2 separate regions of the Homo sapiens genome follow, and region 1 is linked to region 2. Evidence: promoter capture Hi-C in human tissues and cell types (Jung and others, 2019). All regions are on one chromosome and are shown on one strand. Each heading gives the region's core, a stretch centred on a gene start or on the middle of the fragment in contact. The rest is flanking DNA. Distances are from core to core; before and after follow the strand shown.

Region 1 (6,239 bases), core at 2,010-4,509, 330 kb after region 2:
AAAAGAAATGGACCAAAATACAGGCCCTGGCCCTGACCACTAATTTGTACAGTTTAAAACCTCATTAAGTAATTTTGACAAGTTTCTTGAGGAGCCTCCAAACTTGAAACTTTGTGGGAAAATTCAACAGCCTAAACATCTTCTGCCCTCAAGCAGACCCTCATACTGACCTACCAGGCCCTGTTCATACTAGTCAAGGGATAGCTGTTGCTTGCTAAAACACCACCAAAATTTACCCCTTCTCTTAAATGAATTAAACTGGAAAGCCCAGAAATTTCTCTACAAGAAGATCAGTGTCTTCATTGTGCAGAAGAGCTCACACAGCAGGCCTGGGACTTCTCTCCTTAGAAAGGTCTGCTTGCAGCCAAGTGCGGTGGCTCACACCTGTAATCCCAGCACTTTGGGAGGCCAAGGTGGGCAGATCACCTCAGATCGGGAGTTTGAGACCAGCCTGGCCAACATGGTGAAACCCCATCTCTACTAAAAATACAAAAAATTTTCCAGGCATGGTGGCCTGTGCCTGTAATCCCAGCTACTTGGGAGGCTGAGACAGAAGAACTGTCTGAACCTGGGAGGCGGAGGTTGCAGTGAGCCGAGATCACGCCACTGTACTGAAGCCTGGGCAACAGAGCAAAACTCTGTCTCAAAAAAAAAAAAACTAACAATAATAATAATAAAGACTTCTTAGCACCAGCTATATACCACACACTGTGCCATGCACTGTAGACACAAATATCATTAAGACGTAATCCCTAGTCTTGAGAATTTACAGTATGTCCCTATACCCCTAATTTTAGGTCCTTTCCTTATAAAAGAGGGAGGGAGGAAATGGAACATTTTTGTTTAGAAAATATCAATGGTCAAATTATGGAGTACATAGGCCGGGTGCGGTGGCTCATGCCTGTAATCCTAGCACTTTGGGAGGCTGAGGCGGGTGGATCACAAGGTCAGGAGATCGAGACCATCCTGGCTAACACGGTGAAACCCCATCTCTACTAAAAATGTGAAAAATTAGCCGGGCATGGTGGCAGACAGCTGTAGTCCCAGCTACTCAGGAGGCTGAGGCAGGAGAATGGCGTGAACCCAGGAGGTGGAGCTTGCAGTGAGCCGAGATAGCACCACTGCACTCTAGCCTGGGCAACAGAGCAAGACTCCATCTCAAAAAACAAAACAAAACAAAACAAAACAAAAAAACAACTAATTATGGAGTACATAGTGTGTAATACCAAATACATGGTGCTCTGGATTCCAATCTTCCAGGACCGGCCTGGGAAGCTTTCAAGCAGATGTCTTTCTTCCTTCTGTGTGCACCTTGTCCTCCTGTTACAGAACTGCTCATGCTCCACTATGCACCTTCTCCTCATAAAGCCATAAACCTCTTAAATAGAAAGTCCACAATCTGTTCTCTCTTGTGCCATTACACTTAGAGAAACAAAAACCAACAGGAAAAAAAAAAAGCTTGGGGAATTAAATATTATTTTAGTATTAAAACCATTCAATTTGTATATGAGTGAATCTGTACATTAACAGCCACATTGAGGCTGGGTGTGGTAGCTCATGCCTGTAATCCCAGCACTTTGTGAGGCTGAGGTGGGCAGATCACCTGAGGTCAAGGGTTCCAAACCAGCCTGGCCAACATAATGAAACCCCATCTCTACTAAAAATACAAAAATTCGCCAGGAGGGTGGCGCACACCTGCAATCCCAGCTGCTAGCAAGGCTGAGGCATAAGAATCGCTTGAACCTGGGAGGCGGAGGTTGCAGTGAGCGGAGATTGTGCCACTGCACTCCAGCCTGGGTGACAGAGCTAGATTCCATCTCAAAAACAAAAAACAAATGAACAAACAAAAAACTTCATAAACAAAGATGGTATTCACAGTGTCACAAAAGTAAGAATGCCAGAAACTTAAATATCCAGTATCAAGGAAATGTTCTAACAAACTATGAAATAGCCACAGACTGAAATATTATGTAACCATTGATAACGATGCTTTCAAATAATATTTCATGACATGGGAAAATGTTCAGCCATAATTTCATGTTAAGTGAAAAAAAGGATGATAATGATCATACACACAACACATGCACAGAGAAAGACTGAATACAGCTGGGTGCGGTGGCTCACGCCTGTAATCCCAGCACTTTGGGAGGCTGAGGCAGGCGGATCACCTGAGGTCAGGAGTTCGAGACCAGCATGACCAACATGGAGAAACCCTGTCTCTACTAAAAATACAAAATTAGCCAGGTGTGGTGGTGCATGCCTGTAATCCCAGCTACTCGGGAGGCTGAGGCAGGAGAATCACTTGAACCCAGGAGGCGGAGGTTGCGGTGAGCCAAGATCATAGCACCATTGCACTCCAGCCTGGGCAACAAGAGCGAAACTCCATCACAAAAAAAAAAAAAAAAAAAAAAAAAGAAAAGAAAAGAAAAAAAAGAAAAAGACTGAATATAAATATGTAATTTTTTTAATGTATCTGAGTGGGACTGAAGGTGATTTAAATTTTCTTCATTATAATTATCTACATTACTCAATGTTCGCAATGAATACACATTACTTTAAATGTGTGTAAAGGTGAACATTTCAAGAATTTTAAGAAATCAGTGAAAGTGTTGGCTAAGTGCCACGAAAAACATGAACTTAAAATGAACTGTCTTAAAACTACAATATCCTTTTAAAGGAAGACAGTCATAAAGATCACGGGAAGGGGCCAGGTGTGGTGGCTCATGCCTGTAATCCCAGCACTCTGGGAGGCTTAGGCAGGCGGATCACCTGATCCCAGGAGTTTGAGACCAGCCTGGGTAACATGGTGAAATCTTGTCTCTACCAAAAATACAAAAAAATTAGCCAGGTGAGGCCGGGTGCGGTGGCTCATGCCTGTAATCCCAGCACTTTGGGAGGCCAAGGCGGGCGGATCACGAGGTCAGGAGATCAACACCATCCTGGCTAACATGGTGAAACCCCGTCTCTACTAAAAATACAAAAAATTAGCCAGGCGTGGTGGTGGGCACGTGTAGTCCCAGCTACTCGGGAGGCTGAGGCAGGAAAATGGCATGAACCCGGGAGGCGGAGCTGGCAGTGAGCCGAGATAGCGCCACTGCACTCCAGCCAGGGTGATAGAGCGAGACTCCGTCTCAAAAAAAAAAAAAAAAAAAATTAGCCAGGCATCGTGATGCGTGCCTGTAGCCCCGGCCACTTGGGAGGCTGAGATAGGAGAATCCTCTGAGCCCGGGAAGTCAAGGCTGCAGTGAGCCATGATGGTGCCACTGTACTCCAGCCTGAGTGACAGACAGCGAGAGACCTTGTCTCAAAAAGAAAAAAAAAAGAAAATCAAAGGAGGGATTGGAGGTCAATCACTCAAAGTCAAGCTGTGGACTAAGGAATTCAGATTTAAGAGAAGAGGGAATTTACACAATCAATTCCAATTTGTGTTTCATCACAGATAAATTAAGCAGACTTGCTTTAAAAAAAATAGGTCAACTGTGAACTGTAAAGTGGTTTCAGCACACAAATTCAGTGTGTGCCAATGTCCCAGGCTGGCTCGAAACCATCACAACCAGCAATAAATGGAACTTGCCGCACTGGAGGTGTCTGTTGGTAGATAAAGGGGTCACTTGTTTCCCTCATGGCTCTTCTAGTAGGCAGAAAGTATGGGGTATAAAACAAGGATAAGAGGCAGGGATTAAAAAAGAAACCACCTCTATGAAAAAATTCCTGGGAAAAGTTCCTGTTCTCTCCAACAAGATCTGGCGTATTTTCATAGGCCTTCAAAATTAAACAAGAAACACTGAAATGCAGACAAAGCATGATACAAAGCTCTGAAGGGAACAGAGCTATGATACTGTAAATGAACGTCATGCCCCACATTATTGGGAATAGAGTAAACAAGCACCAAAACAAAAAGAAAAACAGACTCAAGGACAAAGGGGTTAAAATAACAGAGCTGGATGAAAAAGGGAGAACAAGGGAGATAAATGAATACCTCTGTATTAAGATTCTATGCACATTTATTAAACCAAGGCTTGTTTGTTGAAGTGGAATTTAAGCCTTATTTAACAAGTGAAAATGAAGGTCAAATTCACTTTTTGTGAAATGCAAAACTTGTCACGTTCAAGTCCAAACATTTTTATTCATGTGCTGTTTATAAAGTTCTTAATCAGGGTGGGTGACAGGCATCAGAGCTATGGGGCTTCACCAGTAGAGGGAGGAAAAGAATTGGGGGAGGTTAATTGCTGACTACAACTAGAGTATGCGAGGAAGAAGATTTCAGCTTCTTACTAATTTCCATTCTCTTCGAGAGATTAAACAGTTCAAACCAAATTACTAAAACAAGGTCAGGAAGCTTCAGTGAAGAGGAGCTGTACACAATTAATTATTTGATATAGTGAGGAAAATTATGACCTGAATTACTAAACATTGTGAAAACAGAAAAGAACACAAAACTATTCAAAAATTCTTAAAATTTTAAAATTGAAATTACACCTATTAACCCAGTAAGTCCACTGTTAATAAACTTGAAGAATTATTCAAAGATCTATGTTCTGGACTGGGCGTGATGGCTCACATCTGTAATCCTAACACTTTGGGAGTGCAAGATGGGAGGATCACTTCAGATCAGGAGTTCATGACCAGCCTGGTCAACATAGCAACACCTGGCTAGGCATAGTGGCTCATGCCTGTAATCCCAGCACTTTGGGAGACCAAGACGGGTCGATCACCTGAGGTCAGGAGTTCAAGACCAGCCTGGCCAATATGGTGAAACCGAGTCTCTACTAAAAATACAAAAATTAGCCAGGCGTGGTGGTGCCTGCCTGTAATCTCAGCTACCTGGAAGGCTGAGGCAGGAGAATCGCTTGAACCCAGAAGGTGGAGAGTACAGTGAGCCAAAATCACGCCACTGCACTCCAGCCTGGGCAACAGACTGAGAGTACGTCTCAAAAAAAAAAAAAAAAAATAGCAAGATCTATTACAAAAAAAAAACTATGTTCAAGCATCTTCATAGATGCATCATCCTACAAGCTACAATACAACATATTTAATGTAATCCCATTTGATTTTGGGTAAGGAACAACCATATATTTATATGTATATACACACACACCAATATATAAAACTTGTGTGTATATACACAAAAATATGCATAGAAAATGTATGAATGTCCATCTAAGACAATGTTAACCAGGATTTACTGTGGCAAATAGGGGAAGGTCCTGAGGCTAACTCAAAACCTTCTATGGTTTGGATTTATCACAAAGCCAGTATTAAGTTTACCTCATTTTGTTTTTATTTCAAGAGAAACAGTTGCTAGATAATGCATCTACTTATAAAAACAGAAAGTGGCCAGGCACAGCTGTAATTCCAACATATTGGGAGGCCGAGACAGGAGGACCACCAGATCCCAGGATTTTGAGACCAGTCTAGGCAACATGGTGAGACCCTCATCTCTAAAAAAATAATAATAATAAATAAGTAAAATAAAATGGCTCACACCTGTAATCCCAGCACTTTGGGAGGCTGAGGCAGGTGGATCACAAGGTCAGGAGATCGAGACAAGCCTGGCCAATATGGTGAAACCCTGTCTCTACTAAAAATACAAAAATTACCCAGGCGTGGTGGCAGACACTTGTAGTCCCATCTACTTGGGAGGCTGAGGTGGGAGAATACCTTGAACCCAGGAGGCAGAGGTTGCAGTGAGCTGAAATCACACCACTGCACTCCAGCCTGGGCAACACAGCGAGACTCTGTCTCAAAAAATAATAATAAATAGGCTGGGCACGGTGACTCACGCCTGTAATACCAGCACTTTGGGAGGCCAAGGTGGGCAGATCACGAGGTCAGGAGATCAAGACCATCCTGGCTAACACGGTGAAACCCCATCTCTACTAAAAGTATAAAAAAATTAGCAGGGTGTGGTGGCGGGCGCCTGTAGTCCCAGCTACTCTGGAGGCTGAGGCAGGAGAATGGCATGAACCCAGGAGGCGGAGCTCACAGTGAGCCAAGATTACGTCACTGCACTCCAGCCTGGTCCACACTGCAAGACTCCGTCTCAAAAATAATAATAACAATAACAAATAAATAAACAAATAAAATAAAAACAAAAATTGATGCTCACAGAAGGAGATGAAAAGGATTATTTGAGGTACCTTTTTTGATTCCATGAAAATACTAGTGAGAGGTGATAGCGTGCTGGCAGCCCTTGAAGCCCTCGCTGGCTCTCGGCACCTCCTCGGCCTCGGTGCCCA
Region 2 (6,334 bases), core at 3,757-6,256:
GTCAACCAACATGGCCTAATTGACATTTCTTAGAACATTCCACCCAACAACAGCAGAACACCGCCTTCTAAGGTTGGGATTCAAGGCATGGCTGTATTGAAAATCCAAGGAAGGCTTGGGTGGGGATAGTGGCTCATGCCTGTAATCCCAGAACTCTGGGAGGCTGAGGCAGGAGGCTCCTTGAGCCCAGGAATTTGAGACCAGACTGAGAAACTTGGCAAAACCTCATCTCTACAAAAAATAACAAGCAAACAAAAATTACCTAGGTGTGGTGGCATGTGCCTGTAGTCCCAGCTACTCAGGAGGCTGAGGTGGGAGGATTATTTGAGGCTGGGAGGGAGGTCGAGGCTGCAGTGAGCCACGATTGTGCCACTGCACTCCAGCTAGGTTGACAGAGTGAGATCCTGTCTCAAAAAAAAAAAAAGAAAAGGGCCGGGTGCGGTGGCTCACACCTGTTATCCCAGCACTTTGGGAGACTGAGGCGGGCGGATCACCTGAGGTCGGGAGCTCGAGACCAGCCTGACCAACATGGAGAAACCCCGTTTCTACTAAAAATACAAAATTAGCCACGTGTGGTGGCACATGCCTATAATTCCAGCTACTTGGGAGGCTGAGGCAGGAGAATCGCTTGAACTCGGGAGGCAGAGGTTGCGATGAGCGGAGATCGAGCCATTGCACTCCAGCCTGGGCAACAAGAGCGAAACTCCATCTCAAAAAAAAAAAAAAGAAAGAAAAGAAAGAAAGAAAAAAGAAAATCCAAGGCTAGAGGGCGCTGGAGAGGGCGTGCTGATAGAACACAAACCAGCCTGAGGGCCAAGCCTTGGGCCCCTCCAACCTTCAGAGGTCGCGAAGAGCAGGATCCAGCAGAGGAGACTGAGAAGGAACCTTGGTGACGAGGAGGATCTGGAGAGTGCGGCCACCAAAAGCCAGGTGAAGGTGGTGTTCAGAGAAGGAGGGAGTGCCGGCTGCATCAGTGTGTCCACGGGTCAAGCAAGATGAGGACTGAGAACTAGTCACTGGATTTGGCCACGCGGAAGTCACTGGTGACCTTGCCAAGAGTGCCTGCCCATGAATGTGGGGATGGGGTGGGAAAGGCAGTGCCCACATATGCTTATTCTCAAGGAGTTTTGCTGGAAAGGGCAGCAAAGCAGTGGAGAGGTGCTGGCAGTGGGCTACGGTAGGGCTTCCTTCTTTTCCTTTAAAGAAGGGATAGAATAGCTCAGACATCGGTGGAAAAAATCTAGGAGAGAGAGAGAACATCTGGGAGCGAGGGGAGAATTTCAGAGGTGATAACCCTGAGAGGAGATGGAGGCAGCACACCCAGGGAGTAGTGGTCCTGGCTGGGGACACCGACAGCCTTTGGTAAGAGAAGGGGCCACACACTACCAGAGGGAAGGGCCAGGGCGGTGTCAGAGGTTTTGAGGGTCTGCAGGCAGCCTGGGTTAATCCAGGGGTCAGGAGAGCCAGGTGGGAATTGTCTGCCCAGGTAGAGACAAGATTCACTAACATCTTCCCCATGGGCAGTGGGGTGCATGCTGGCATTTTCATTGTCATTACTTGTTCTGTGACCCTGGACAAGCAAGCCAGGTGACCTTGGGCAGGTGAGCCTGCTGTCACCAGGATGGATGGGCAGCAGGCTGGGGAGGTGGGTCCCCTACAAGCAGAAGAAAATTCCATGCGACACATCCTTTGCTGCCACTAGACGGCGCCAAGAGACCGTTCCGTTCTCACCACGCGCTTCAAACTCCAACCTGCTGGGGTCGAAGCCTCCAGGAACCAGATCTGGTTCAAGCCTCACCCTGAGGCTCATTTGACAAGGAATCAAGACAGAAAGGGGGTGGATCCTGGAATGAGCTTCCTCAGAAAGCGTCCTGCAGCCCTGCGAACCTGTGAAGTCCCAGCCTTGCCCTCCAGCAGCACCCTGACAGCCCCAGAGATGTGGCCAGGAAGGTCTTGATCCACAGTGCACCCCGTGTCCCCACGGCCACCGCCAGCGCCCCTTCCTCGGGGTAAGGCATTAGTTTCACACCCACCAACCAAGTGCACGCTTTGGTCCAGGCCCCGCTGGTGCTGAGAATCCCGAGAAGCTTAGACCTCCCTGCTCTCACAAGTGGGGATGAATGAATGAACGAATGAGCCCAAGATGGAAATTCTTTTTCTTTAAATTTATTATTATTATTATTATTATTATTATTATTATTATTTAGAGACGGGGTCTCACTCTCTTGCACAGGCTGGAGTGCAGTAGTGAGATCACAGCTCACTGCAGCCTCGACCTCCACCTCAACCTTTTGAGTAGCTGGGAACAAGGGTGTGCACCACCACACCTGGCCAAATGTGGAATTTCCAGGGAGTGGAGGGGAGATCCTGGGCACAGAGCCTGAAAGGGCTGGGGCAGCAGGGGTTCCTCTGAGGGGGTTGGTCCTGCCCGAAGGTTGTGAGAGGGAGAGGAAGGATGGTATGAAACTGGGCACCCGACTTGAGACTTGGACTTAAGGAGACATTGTTAAGAGAAGGGTGGGAATGAATGGGATCTCATCATGGATTTCCAATAGGATACAAGCGCCCTACCAGCCACTATCATCCCACATCAACCTAGAACGAATTCTCTCTCCAGCTTGCCCTGCCCCCTGCCCTGCCCAGAGTCTGTCCAAGCAGACTCTACCACAGACAGGAGAAAGCTGAGGCAGCAGAACAAGAGACGGGAGAGGCCAGGTTTGGGTGAGGGGCCCTACCCCCACCAGGGTCAGCTTGGGGTGTGCTGGAGCCAGAGTCCTGTGCCAGGAGGCAGAAGGGGCACCTTGAAAGAAGCTCCCCACACCCTTCAACCCTGGCACAGCCCAGCCAGCCACCCAGGTAATGCACTTAAAGTGCTCAGCACCCAGTCAGCGTTGACCACTCTTCTCGTTATATATTAAATACAACAAACATCTTTCAAGAACAAAAAGCAAGCATGTTTGGTCCATTCATGAATCCTTGTACACTGATTGTTCGGGTTCTTTCAGTTCCCATCCACTTAGAAATAACAAACATGTTTCATTTTGAGCCTATCCTACAGGGCCGCAAATCCGGAGCCTGCAGTTTGTTCTCTTGGCCTGGGGCCAGGTTGCAGATGTTTGAGTCCCTTGGATCCCTGAGTGGCTGCGTCTCCCAGTCTGGTGCTGACTCATGGTGCAGCCAGCATGCAGCCTGCCCATCGGCCAGGTCCCTGCAGGTTTCTGAGTCTCAGATGGTGGATGGCCTATTCAGAGTTCACAGATCTGCACCTAATAGACTTTCCTCTTTGTCCCTCTTTCTACCCCTAAAGTACATGTGAGGGGAAACCCTCTGCATGGTGCCTAGCACGCAGTGAACACTCAGCGTTCGCTGTCAGTGGTGTGTTATTATTATTCATTACCATTAGGATCCTTGCACAAACTCATCGCAGTTGCCTATTTATTTTTTCCAGGAAGATTACTCGGAACTGCTTAGGCACATCACACCAGGGCGGACTGATGGAGAGCAGGAAGATGGGGTATTCATCTGTCCCCTCTTCCACATGCTCCTTAAAGACAAGAATCATCTGATTAGTCTCCGTGTTCCAGCAACCCCCTGGGACCCAGCAACCGGTAATTAGGCAAGGAATAAGCTTATTGTATGTTTCACAGTTTTTCAAAGATGATTTGGGAGAATCAAATCATACCATCATCATTCCACCAATCAGGACTCGGCACTCTGACAGTGCACTTTGATGTTTAAAAAAAACAAAAAAACCAAAAAAAAAAAAAACGCCATTGGCTTCCCTCTCTCCACCCAACTTAAGAAAGAAGTTATGAATGTGAACTTTCAAAGGCCAATTACTACCCCTTAGAAGAACCTACCATCTCTAAACTACAAAGATGGGCAGCCTGGATTCTATTATTTTTATTATTTTACAAAATTCTTAATTTTTAAATACACATAGATATAGGGTCTCGCTAGGTTGACCAGGCTGGTCTTGGAACTTCTGGCCTCAAGCAATCCTCCCATCTCAGCCTCTCAAAATGCTAGGATTACAGGTGTGAGCCACCGCACCCAGCTGGGCAGCCTGGATTCTGGCTCTTATGTAGTCATGGTGTAGGGGAGGAGGTCGTGGTGGGTCCGAACTAGGGGGAAACTTGGTGGGCAGGCAACCCAGCCCCTGCCTTGTACGGACCCAGATACTGAGGCCCACAGAATGACAGTGCCAGCTCTAGGGGGCTGGAGGAGAGCCATTGCTGGAGGTAGCTGTTCTCAGTAGGTCTCCCTCTTGGTCCTCACAGCGTCCTCGGGGACAATGATTTTTGTCATTAGGAACCAGATCCCATCACAGCTTGGCTTTACGTACAGTGAAGGTGTCATTCCTGGCTTAACCTTACACTGCCCCGAAGGCCCCCTCCCCAGCTGTCCGTTTCCAGCCTGGCAATGGGACTCTCTGAGCACGCCCCTCATCTCCTCCCCCTCTGAAAAGTATCCTCAATCTCCCGGTCTATATCTAATAACACATCTGTCGTGCCTATATTTTGGTACCTGATACGTAGTCATTCATTCATTCAATGAGAGAACATTTAATGAGAGGTTAAGGGGCTTAGAACAACGCCGGGCACAGGCTAAGCGCTCACTAAACGTTAGCTCTCGCCAATAACATCACTGATTCACTATAAAGTTTCTCTGGCTGTGTGCTATTCGCTGCGTCCACAGCAGTGAAGAAGACAGACGCAGCCCCTGACCAACCTCGCCAAGCCCGGGCGCCGAGCCAGGACGTTGAGCCAAGTCCCCATCTCCTAGGACTCGCAGTGCGGAGGCTGCGGGCCCCGACCAGCGCCGAGACTACAAGTCCCAGAAGGGCGCGCGGCGACATCGCCGGGCCCGCCCCCCGCGCACGCGCGGCGCCGTGACGCTAAGGCCGCGAGCGAGCGCGGGTGGCTGCGGCGGCTGCGGCCGGCGGGGCGGGGCGGGGCCACCTGGCAGTGGCTGCCTTTAGGGCGGAGCCGGCTCCCGCTCTCCTCAGTCTGCGGTGGGCTAGCGGACGGTCCGGCTTCCGGCGGCCGTTTCTGTCTCTTGCTGGCTGTCTCGCTGAGTCGCGGCCGCCTTCTCATCGCTCCTGGAAGGTCCCGAGCGCGACACCATGTCGGAGCCCGGGGGCGGCGGCGGCGAGGACGGCTCGGCCGGATTGGAAGTGTCGGCCGTGCAGAATGTGGCGGACGTGTCGGTGCTGCAGAAGCACCTGCGCAAGCTGGTGCCGCTGCTGCTGGAGGACGGCGGCGAGGCGCCGGCCGCGCTGGAGGCGGCGCTGGAGGAGAAGAGCGCCCTGGAGCAGATGCGCAAGTTCCTTTCGGACCCGCAGGTCCACACGGTGCTGGTGGAGCGCTCCACGCTCAAAGGTGCGGGGCCGCGGAGGGCAGGGTCGCCAGAGCCAGGCCTCGCGGAATGCAGGGCCTGCCAGGTCCTCCGGGGTCGCAGATGTCCCCGGGATGGGAGGAGCCCGGCAGCTGCAGATGACCCCTGGATGGGCAGAGCCCGGCGGCCGCAGACGTCCCGCCGGCCGGGTCCCCAGGGCCGCAGACGCCCCGCAGAGGCCGGCGCGGCGCCCGGGGCTCGCCCTCGCCACACCCACTGCCCGGCCCGGAGCCCCCAGGGCGCCCCGCTCCTGGTCGCGGGGAGGGGAAAGGGGTCCCCGTCTGCCGTCACCCAAAACAATGGGGTCGCTTTGTCTGCTCGGGCCTCTCAAGATGGCCGAGTTGGGTGGAGACAGCGTCTCCCTGGGCTGAGAGCGGGCGAGGCCGCATCCCTGCCTCCAGTGTCACATGAGCTTTTCGGTTTCGATTTGTGTCCAAGCCAAGTGGCCTTCGGGAGGGATGTGTCGGGGGCAGACCCGCGGAGCTGGGGGCAGCCGGGGTTCTGGTTCGGGAGGAGGTCGGGCGGGTGTCCCAGCCCTGCCTTGTGGGGACCCAGAGGCCGAGGCCCACAGAGCGACGGTGCCAGCCCCGGGCCTGCGAGCATCACTGTTGTAGGTGGATGCTCTCACAGCATCCTTGCTGAACGGGTGTATCCTGATTTTACACCTGAGGAAACTGAGGCTCAGGTTAAGTGATTTCACCCAAGGTCACCAGCTAATCTTAGTCCTGAGACTAGACTCAGTGTCTCAGCTCCCCATCCACTGCTTGTTTTCACTGATCATACCTCATATTTGTTTAATGCTTCGATGATGTTAATGATAACCCTGTAATATTTGAGTCTAATTTTACAGATTAAAAAAAAAAAAAAAGATTCAGGTTAGGCACCTAGTAGGGGGAAGAGGCTAGAGTTAGCGTGTTCCAGCTGTCTCCTCAAATAA

Evidence for each region. Contacts are between HindIII fragments. The study calls those that stand out against the background at their distance.
Region 1: a contact is called between a fragment that was not itself captured here and the fragment with the promoter of DYNC1H1 in region 2, in 1 of the 25 tissues and cell types used here (dorsolateral prefrontal cortex).

The regions. Positions count from the first base shown.
Region 1 is chr14:102,291,313-102,297,551 of GRCh38, forward strand. All of the region lies in intron 1 of MOK (MOK protein kinase), which reads right to left. Among named protein-coding and RNA genes, the nearest start is that of MOK, 11 kb to the right of the region's middle. The HindIII fragment of the contact is 5,250 bases long and covers 635-5,884 here.
Region 2 is chr14:101,959,567-101,965,900 of GRCh38, forward strand. DYNC1H1 (dynein cytoplasmic 1 heavy chain 1) reads left to right here and starts at 5,007. Exons shown (of 78, transcript NM_001376.5): 1 at 5,007-5,381. The coding sequence starts at 5,126. RefSeq lists silencers at 1,719-1,895, 4,840-4,999, 5,490-5,699 and enhancers at 1,818-1,877, 4,560-4,699, 4,744-5,354, 5,355-5,964. The HindIII fragment of the contact is 2,222 bases long and covers 2,858-5,079 here.